2 separate regions of the Homo sapiens genome follow, and region 2 is linked to region 1. Evidence: promoter capture Hi-C in 16 types of primary human blood cells and fetal thymus (Javierre and others, 2016). All regions are on one chromosome and are shown on one strand. Each heading gives the region's core, a stretch centred on a gene start or on the middle of the fragment in contact. The rest is flanking DNA. Distances are from core to core; before and after follow the strand shown.

Evidence for each region. The method cuts DNA at HindIII sites, captures the fragments that hold promoters and counts their contacts. A CHiCAGO score of 5 or more calls a contact.
Region 2: the fragment with the promoter of MIOX here is called in contact with a fragment that was not itself captured in region 1 in 7 of 17 cell types (megakaryocytes, fetal thymus, M1 macrophages and 4 more); the score reaches 5.5 in megakaryocytes.

The regions. Positions count from the first base shown.
Region 1 is chr22:50,420,509-50,425,197 of GRCh38, forward strand. PPP6R2 (protein phosphatase 6 regulatory subunit 2) reads left to right here. Exons shown (of 24, transcript NM_001242898.2): 9 at 1,746-1,872; 10 at 2,954-3,106. Among named protein-coding and RNA genes, the nearest start is that of MIR12114, 15 kb to the left of the region's middle. The HindIII fragment of the contact is 5,127 bases long and covers 749-4,689 here.
Region 2 is chr22:50,485,379-50,490,555 of GRCh38, forward strand. It overlaps MIOX (myo-inositol oxygenase), which reads left to right and starts at 1,481. Exons shown (of 10, transcript NM_017584.6): 1 at 1,481-1,534; 2 at 2,007-2,087; 3 at 2,284-2,364; 4 at 2,508-2,670; 5 at 2,897-2,964; 6 at 3,662-3,771; 7 at 3,850-3,917; 8 at 4,019-4,068; 9 at 4,154-4,266; 10 at 4,370-5,177. The coding sequence starts at 1,520. The coding sequence ends at 4,478. It overlaps ADM2 (adrenomedullin 2), which reads left to right. Exons shown (of 3, transcript NM_001253845.2): 3 at 1-1,059. The HindIII fragment of the contact is 4,673 bases long and covers 1,040-5,177 here.

The sequences.
Region 1 (4,689 bases), core at 2,062-4,561:
TCTCTGACCCCCAGTAGAAATTTCAGGAAGTGTTTGAAACTGTTTCTCTGGATCATAGTGTGGCCTAGTCCTTCCCTCAAGTCATAGAAGGCTGGGCACTGCCAGAGCCGTTCAAGCAGTTGAAACTCCAAAGAGGATGCCCATGAGGCGCAAATGGAAAGACAGCCGAGTGGAGTCTGTGAGGGAGGCATTGGCACAAGGGGGTGTGGTTGGCCCGCCAGGTGCCCAGGAGATCCTATAGGGTGTGTCCCAAAAGGGCCACATCAGTGTCCTCTGGGCACTTCCCCTCCTGGCCTCACCCTGGCCCTTGAACCCCATCTCTGGATTCAGGTTCCCCACATGCCGGCAGGAACCTGATGTCTCAGGACGTTTCCGTCGTCTCCGTTCCATCACAGGCTGGGACGATGTCTAACTCTCCCAAGGTGGCCGTAGCTCCCTTATTTCCACGTTCTGGGGAGAACATAATTCAGCCCCCAACACTGATAGCCTGTGCTTTTTTAAAGTGAAAGAAAAAGGAACAATGAGAAAATGATAAGAAATTGACTTAACCTTGATAGTGAGGTTGTTAGGACTCTCTTTCTCTCTCTCTCTCTCTCTCTGTCTGTCTCTGGTAGTACCTAATACATATTTGTTAGTTTATTAACCAGAAGTAGTGTTATAATGTTACCGTTTTCTCTAGTTAGGCAACTGGAATATTGATATTTTAATCTTCATAAACCCAGGAAAGCTGAGCCACTTCTGAGGCCCAAGCTTAACCCTGTATGTGATAGAGGGGACTGTGTAAAAATCAGGAAAACAGAGATAAGCCAGCTGTTTCTCTTAGATTATTGTGATTATTATTATTATTATTTTCAGACAGTGTCTTGCTCTGTCACCCACGTGGGAGTACAGCAGCACGATCATATCTCAGCGTGGCCTCAGAGTCCTGAGCTCAAGCGATCCTCCCACCTGTCCCCCCCAAAGTGCTGGGATTATAGGTGTGAGCCACTGCACCTGGCTCTCTGATTTTTAAAATTATTTTGCATATTACTTTAAAAAATATATGATTACGTATTACTTTTACAACTGGAAAGAGTGTTTAAATAAATATCTCAGAAGACTTGCTTGAAAACACCACAGGGGGTAGGCGCAGTGGCTCACGCTTGTAATCCCAGCACTTTGGGAGGCCAAGGCGGGTGGATCACCTGAGGTCAGGTGATCGAGACCAGCCTGGCCAACATGGCAAAATCCTGTCTCTACTAAAAATACAAAAAGGAGGCTGAGGCAGGAGAATCGCTTGAACCCAGGAGGTGGAGGTTGCAGTGAGCTAAGATCGCACCATCGCACTCCAGCCTGGGTGACAGAGCGAGACTCTGGCTCAAAAAAAATAAAAATAAATAAAAATAAAAGTCGACACAGGAACAGTGAAAGAGACAGGGATAGCAGTGAAGGTTTTAAAAGTGGGACAGAGCAGGACCTCTAACTGGTGCTAGGGCCAGTGAGTCCTGTGTTGTGTCACTTGCCCTGCCTCCATATTCTCGGATGTCGCAAGCAAGCATCTGCCTGAAGGTCTTTAGTACCTTTCTCTTCTGCCTGTACCAGTCACCAGATCACGTGTGGAGACGCTGGGTAGCTGCACTGCTCTAGGGTTTCTTTTTGGGAAAGTTAAAAGGGCTCTTTCTGGAAGAAGCGGGTGCACTGAGTTGCTGGTGAGGTTGGACAGGGTCCTGGTGTCCCCGGTCTCCATCTGCTTTCCTCATCCACAGGACAGAGGGCTTGGTGGACTCCTTTTCTCAGGGACTGGAAAGGTCATACGCTGTCAGCAGCAGCGTACTACACGGCATCGAGCCTCGGCTGAAGGACTTCCACCAGCTCCTGCTCAACCCGCCCAAGGTAAATGGCCGTGGCGACTGCTGAGTGCCTTTGGAGGCGTCGCAGGAGAGGTTGATTTGCAGGGAGGAGAAGCCACAGCTTGTCCCATAGGTAGCAGAGTGTGGAGTGAATGTGTTCTAAGACGGCCATTCCCACACCCCCACTTGAGAAGCACCGGGCAGGTGCCAAAACACATTTTCAGGACTGCCCCTCCCAGATCTGCAAATGCTCATCTCTGCCTCTGCAAATGACCCCGAGGTCACCATAAGCCTGGCCTCCAAGTTGGGGGCACCTAGCTAAGGGGTGCTCGGCTCCTGAGAGGGGACCAGGGGGTGGCAGGGGAGGCCCTTTGCCCTGCTCAGCAGCATGTTGAGGGGGGTGAGGCACACAAAGGCTCCTCCTGGTTCAGACTGCCAGCCAGGCAACTCCCCATCCCGTCTCACCCTCCCCAGACACAACCCGACCCCTGCTGCATAGCACCCTCCTGACCTATAGCTCAGTTCCTCTCACTCGCCACCTTGGTAAGATCCACCTGTCCCACTAGCGAGCTCTGTGGGGGCCAAGATTCTGTTTTGTCAGCTGGAGGTTTCAGTGAAGAGAAGGTAGGTGCAGTAGGCTGAGTGTGGGGGATCAGAAAAGACCGCGGTCCATCGGAGGAGGCATTCCCGTCAGTGTCCCCAAAGTGTGTTCATGGGACACTTGTTAGCTTGGTGTTCTGAGATTGTGGCCGCAGAGGGACCCCCACTGGGCATCCTCAGTGAGGCATCGTGCCAAGGGCTCTGGCCTTAGACCGGTACTGCTGGCCCCATCTTGGACATCTCACCCGCTGAGGTGCACGGCTCTCTGGCCCTGCAGGCTCAGACTGGAGTGCCCGTGAGCATCCTGGGAGCACTCTCTGAAGCCCTGAGGGGAGCAGCAGGCTCTTCACCCCATTGATGCCTTCATTTCTTCTGGCAGACGGCCCTCCCTGAGGAACCCCCACCACATACCTCGCTACCCCAGGCTGGGTCCCAGCCTAGAGTGATGGGCATGAGCCCAGAGACTCCAGCAGTGGCCTCACTGCTCACAGGGCCTAACTGGGTGGTGCCTTCTGTGTTTGCAGAAGAAAGCGATCCTGACCACCATTGGTGTGCTGGAGGAGCCCCTGGGGAATGCCCGTCTGCATGGCGCCCGCCTCATGGCAGCACTGCTGCACACAAACACACCCAGCATCAACCAGGAGCTCTGCCGGCTCAACACGATGGACTTACTGCTGGTAAGTGGGCCCCTCAGCCAGCCCTGCATGTCTGTGAGTGTGCCGGGCATGGCCTGTGGACTTGTCAGGAGCAGCAGAGCAGGGCCCCAGCATTTGGACAAAGCTCTGCCACGGGGAGGTTCCAGTCCCAAGTCCCAAGGCTGGACTACAGGTCTCTGGCGGGGCACAGAGCAGCAGTGGGGTGTGTCTCAGCTGCAGGCTCATGGGAAGTGACGAGTCTACCGTAGAATTGCCCTGAAAGCAGAAGGCGGATTTCTAACCCGGTTTGATGGAATAGAGTGACACGTCTACCTCCTTTCTCATGTTCTGACTGAACAACATAGAACTTACACGGTGGTTATTAGGTATAAAATGGCTAAAAGAGAAGCTCCTGTCGTCCACAGTAGAAGGCCAACCTGGCAGTTTTTGTCAAAGCCAGCGGGCAGTGCCTCTCCATCCCGCAGACGGCTTGCATGATGCTCCAGGTGGCTGAGGAGAGGAAGGGGCAGGCGGTGCTGGCAAGTAGTGCCAGTGAGCAGCCCTGGCTGTGGGTGGCGGGCTCCTCTGCGGAGAGCATGAGGCTGCTCCCCTGAGAACGAAGGGCACTGCCCTAGTGGGTCCTGTTGGCAGACGCAGCCCCCGTCTTCTGCCTGGCTCTGGGGCTCTGCTGGAATCTCCCTGCAATCTTAGTCCCAGAACTGGGCTCGAAGTGCTGTCTGGCTCAGTTCTGTCAGCGTGTGGAAGGTCTGTCCGCGTGTGGAAGGTCCGTCCGCGTGTGGAAGGTCCGTCCGCGTGTGGAAGGTCCGTCAGTGTGTGGAAGGTCCGTCCGCGTGTGGAAGGTCCGTCCGCGTGTGGAACGTCTGTCAGCGTGTGGAAGGTCCGTCCGCGTGTGGAACGTCTGTCAGCGTGTGGAAGGTCTGTCCGCGTGTGGAACGTCTGTCAGCGTGTATGAGTTCTGGGCACTGCTTTGGCTGTGAGATCCCAGTCTGCATCAGGGAAGCAATTACAAAAGAGACCTACTTTCCTTTTCCCTCTTCTTCTTTTTTTTTTTTTTTTTTTTTTTGAGATGGAGTCTCTCTCTGTCGCCAGGCTGGAGTGCAGTGGCGGGACCTTGGCTCACTGCAATCTCCGACTCCCTGGTTCAAGCGATTTTCCTGCCTCAGCCTCCCGAGTAGCTGAGATTACAGGCATGCGCCACCATGCCCAGCTAATTTTTTTTTGTATTTTTAGTAGAGACGGGGTTTCACCGTGTTGGCCAGGATGGTCTCAAACTCCTGACCTCGTGATCCACCCGCCTTGGCCTCCCAAAGTGCTGGGATTACAGGCTTGAGCCACTGCACCCAGCCCCTTTTCCTTCTTCAAAAGAATTCTGTCTTCCACTTTCTTCCTCTCTTTTATATTTACTGTGGTAAAATATCATAACATAAACTTGGCTGTTTTAACTATTTTAAGGTGTGTCACTCAGTGCATTCACAATCTTGTATAGCCATTACCATTATTCACATCTAGAAGTTTTTCATTTTCCCAAACAGAAACTCTCTCCGTTAAACACTAACTCCCCATTCATTCTCCCTCTCCACAGTCTCTGGCAACCACCATTGTCT
Region 2 (5,177 bases), core at 231-2,730, 63 kb after region 1:
CTTCCTCTGAATCCCACCCGGTCCCACCTCCTGAACCTATCCAGACACCTTCTCCTGACCCAGGCACCACCTGCTTTCGGGGCGATGGCCGTAGCCTCCTCCCAGGCACCTGTCTGCATCCCTCTGGCCAGTGCATGCTGAGCACGTGACCTACCCGTGTTGGGACACGTGAGGATACAGCCTTGACCCCCAGGGGCTGACATTCTAGGGGGAGATAGAAGGAGACAAACGTAGAAGGTAGAATAAGTGGGTGGTGGAGTGGCAGGGAGTGCTGAGTGCCACAGGAAGTCAGACAAGGAAGGAGAGTGTGGGGCAGGTGCCGTTTAAATGGGGGGCGCTGGGGTCTCCTCACAGTTGCTTCTCAGCTCAGCTGTGCCAGGATCTTGTTGAGTCAGGTCAGCTGCCCACAGCCCTCTTGCCTGACCCCTGAAGCCCAGAACTCTGATCTTCACAGCCCTAGGTATGGCCCCAGCACCCCACTGCCCTCTCTCCTGCCCCAGCCGACTGCTGTTCCCAGACTTCCCTGGCCACGCTCCAAGACGCCAGCTCTGCCGCGGGCACTTTGTTCTCACGGTGTCCTCCATGCCTGCAGGGCCCATGCATGGGAAGTTGCGTTGGCGGCCTGGGTGTTGGCGGTTCCGTGCCTGCTCCAACTCTCCGTGAGGCCCCTCTCCCAGAGCCTGACACACTCTGTGGCCGAACTCTAGGCAGGTGCCCCTGAGTCCTTTCCTCGACGAGGCCTGACCCCATCCCCATCCTCGCTGGGCCCGCCGACCCCGGTGTTAGCAAGAATCCTCTAAATCAGTTTATGGAGAATTACCCACCCTCGATATCTGATCCCATTCCTCATCTCCCACCCTTGATCTCATCACCCTGCCGGCCTCCTGCAAGATCCTCATTGAGCCACTCCAGTGAGAATCCCCCTACCCTCGAAGGCCGCCCTAACAACTTCCCATCCGCTGACCCCTCCAACGCCATCAATCTCCAGCTGTGGTTGTTGAACTCGGAGGTGAGCTCCTCTCACCACTCTCTTGAATAAAGCTTTTCTCACCATTTTAACAAGTCCTCAGAATCATCTTTTCTTAACAAGCTCCTGCCCCACCCAGAATCACGGGGGGCCTGGGGACAAGTTTTCACCTCCTGAGATCCAGTGGGGCAGCCGGGGAAGGGGTGGTGCAGAGGGGGCGTGTGCTTGAGGGTGGGGTCTTGGGTCTGCCCCTACTTGTGGGACCCCACAGAGGGGTCTAAGGCCAGGGCCCAAGTGGGAGGCTGGGCCCACAGATAACCCTAGGCAGGTCAGCGGCTCGGGACAGGAGTGTGAGGCTGAGTCAGGGCCAGAGGATGTGGGACTGCTGGGGGCTGCTGCTGTGCTGACACATTAACTCCCTGAGGCCGGGAGGAGGGTGGATGGTCATTTATTACTGCGGACACTTATGTAACCTGGGGTGTATATAGGAGCCTGGCTGAGGACACACTCGCCAGCCTGTGCTTTGCCACCTGAGCGCCGCTCCCTCTCAGGATGAAGGTGACGGTGGTGAGTACCCAGACCCCATGCAGAGAGGCTCTGCTGACTGCTCTCCTGGTGGCCAGCCACTCCCGCCCTCTTCTAGCTGGCACTGGCCAGCCCTCCTCCTCCGTCCAGCTGGGCAAGAGCCAGCGGCTGCCGACCCCCAGGCTCCCTGTGGACTCAGTCTCCTCCCAAAGCCACTTCCACCCCTCAAGGGTGGCCATGGGTGCCGCTCAGGCGTGGTGTCCCCTGTACCCCGGAAGCAGACGTCTGCTGACTTTCGCTTTGCAGATGAGGACCTGGGAGTGAGAGCTCCTGGGACTCGCTGAGGCCAGGGCAGGGGCTGGGATGATGGCGTGGGAGAGGCTGTGTCCTCGCGTGTCACCCACCAGCCCTCGAGCAGAGGCAGGCTTGGAGTCTGCAGCCACCCTGGGAATGTCTGTGCTTCCTCGTGGAGCTGACATGATGGTGAAATAGGTTCAATCCTCCACCTACCCAGGGCCCAGACCCTTCCCTGGTCTACCGACCTGATGTGGACCCAGAGGTGGCCAAAGACAAGGCCAGCTTCCGGAACTACACGGTGAGTACCTTGCCGTCCTGCCCCCCTTCTCCCCCATCCACACCCTGGGGAGCAGCACTTGCCCTTCACACAGTTCCAGGGGGTGCCCTGTGGGAACTCCCACCCCCATCACACCCTGTGGGGCTGCCTGGGAGAGGGGAGGCATGGGGCCTCGTGTGCAGGGTGGGGGTGGCGCCACTGACCCTCCGGCCTGCAGTCAGGTCCCCTCCTGGACCGTGTCTTCACCACCTACAAGCTCATGCACACGCACCAGACAGTGGACTTCGTCAGGAGCAAGGTAGGCGTTTCCTGCCGCCCCGTGCAAACGCGGAGGGACCCTTGCCCTCAGCCCCATGAGCCCACCAGGCGCCGAGGGGATGGAGAGGCCTGTGTGGTGGGCCTGCTGACCCTGGGCCACACTGCCTTCTCCTTCCCCGCCAGCATGCCCAGTTTGGGGGCTTCTCCTACAAGAAAATGACAGTCATGGAGGCCGTGGACCTGCTGGATGGGCTGGTGGATGAGTCGGACCCGGACGTAGATTTCCCCAACTCCTTCCATGCCTTCCAGACAGCGGAGGGCATCCGGAAGGCCCACCCAGACAAGGGTGAGCCCTGGCTGTGCTGCAGGGGGGCAGGTGCTGCCTCCAAGGGGCAGAATGCAGCAGCCTGTAGGGTGGGAGGGGACAGTAGTGGGCCCAGGCCTCCTCCAGCAGCCCTGCCTGGGTTGGGGAGCAGGCCCTGGACCCTTCCTGGCTCTCAGCCCCGCAAACCTGCTCATCCTCTGCCTTGGCCCCTGCAGTCCCCAACCTGCCCTGTCCATCCCCCTCCCAGACTGGTTCCACCTCGTCGGGCTCCTGCACGACCTGGGGAAGGTCCTGGCCCTGTTCGGGGAGCCCCAGGTAAGAGTTGGAAGTGGAGGGTGAGGAGGCTGCATGTTGAGGCAAGGTGGGGGTGGAGTGGCCTTGGTGCTTGGCCTGGGATACTACCTGGGGGACAGGCCAGTGCACCCCCCACGGCCCCCCGACGGCTGCCTGTCCCTCTGGTGGCCTCGGTGCTTGGCCTGGGATACTACCTGGGGGACAGGCCAGTGCACCCCCCACGGCCCCCCCCACGGCTGCCTGTCCCTCTGGTGGCCTCGGTGCTTGGCCTGGGATACTACCTGGGGGACAGGCCAGTGCACCCCCCACGGCCTCCCCGCACCACTCCCCCCACGGCCCCCCATGGCCGCCTGTCCCTCCTGTCACTCTGCAGTGGGCGGTCGTCGGCGACACCTTCCCCCACTTCCCCCACGGCCCCCCATGGCTGCCTGTCCCTCCTGTCCCTCCTGTCCCTCCCATCCCTCCCGTCCCTCCTGTCCCTCCCGTCCCTCCCATCCCTCCTGTCCCTCTGCAGTGGGCAGTCATCGGCAACATCTTCCCCCACTCCCCCCATGGCCGCCCGTCCCTCCTGTCCCTCTGCAGTGGGCAGTCATCGGTGACACCTTCCCCCACTCCCCCCATGGCCGCCCGTCCCTCCTGTCCTTCTGCAGTGGGTGGTCATCGGCGACACCTTCCCCCACTCCCCCCATGGCCTCCCGTCCCTCCTGTCCCTCTGCAGTGGGCTGTCGTCGGCGACACCTTCCCCGTCGGATGCCGTCCGCAGGCCTCCGTGGTTTTCTGCGACTCCACCTTCCAGGACAACCCTGACCTCCAGGATCCTCGATACAGGTGCTCCCTGCTGCTGAGGGCTGGGCCCCCTTCCCTGGGCGGCTGCTGAGCCCTCCTCACCCTGGTATCTCACTGCAGCACAGAGCTCGGGATGTATCAGCCCCACTGTGGGCTCGACAGGGTCCTCATGTCCTGGGGCCATGATGGTGAGGCCAGAGGCGGGCAGTGGGGCGGTGGGGGGCGGTGGGGGACGGTGGGGGGCGGTGGGGCAGAGGCAGTGCCTGCTGGTGACACCCTCTCCCCACAGAGTACATGTACCAGGTGATGAAGTTTAACAAGTTCTCACTGCCCCCTGAGGTAGGTGGGGGGAGGGGCAACGCAGCCCGTCCACCAGGCCCGGTCCTGCAGCCCCAAGTGAGCCGCTGGGTGGCCTTGCCCGCAGGCTTTCTACATGATCCGGTTCCACTCCTTCTACCCCTGGCACACGGGCCGCGACTACCAGCAGCTGTGCAGCCAGCAGGACCTGGCCATGCTGCCCTGGGTGCGGGAGTTCAAGTACGCCCCGCTACCCGCCGAGGGGTGTTGTGGGAGTGAAAGAGGGGGTTGGGTGGGGGGCCTGGGGGTTCTTCACGGGGCTCACCGCCCCTCCCTGCTGCAGCAAGTTCGACCTCTACACCAAGTGCCCGGACCTGCCGGACGTGGACAAGCTGCGGCCCTACTACCAGGGGCTCATTGACAAGTACTGCCCTGGCATCCTGAGCTGGTGACCCTCCTGCCACCCAAGCTGCTGCTGGACCTAGGCCTGGCCCTCCGCCTGCCTGGAGAGGCCTGGCCCTGGGCAAACAGCCGCCATCAGGGTTCACCTCGGTGGGGGACCCCACTCACCCCCTTAGGGTCGCCACCCCTCACGGCAACTTGTGCCTGGCGTCAATAAAGACCTGGAAGGATGTTGTGCTTCTGAAGCCCCACTGGGTGTTACTGCAGCAGGGCGTGGCCCAGGCCGAGGGATGGTGCCAGCAGGGTGGAGGCCAAGTCCCAGGCTTTCAGGTGTGTGTGTCCCACCACACTGGCCGTGGTAAACATCTGCCCATCCTCCCAGCTCCTGTGTCAGAGCCTGGGGGACGAGTCACCCAGCTCACCCCCACATGCTCAAAACAGTCACCAAGTCCTCTGGGCTCCGTCCCCTTAAAAAATACCCCAATAGCTAAAATAATACATTCATAGAAAACAACAAAAAACAAATGCAGGCTGGGCACAGCGGCTCACACCTATAATCCCAGCACTTTGGGAGGGCGAGGTGGGCGGATCACCTGAGGTCAGGGGTTCAAGACCAGCCTGGCCAACATGGTGAAACCCCGTCTCTACTAAAAATACAAAAATTAGCCGGGCGTGGTGGTGGGCGCCTGTAATCCCAGCTATTCAGGAGGCTAAGGCAGGAGAATCGCTTGAACCCGGGAGACAGGGGT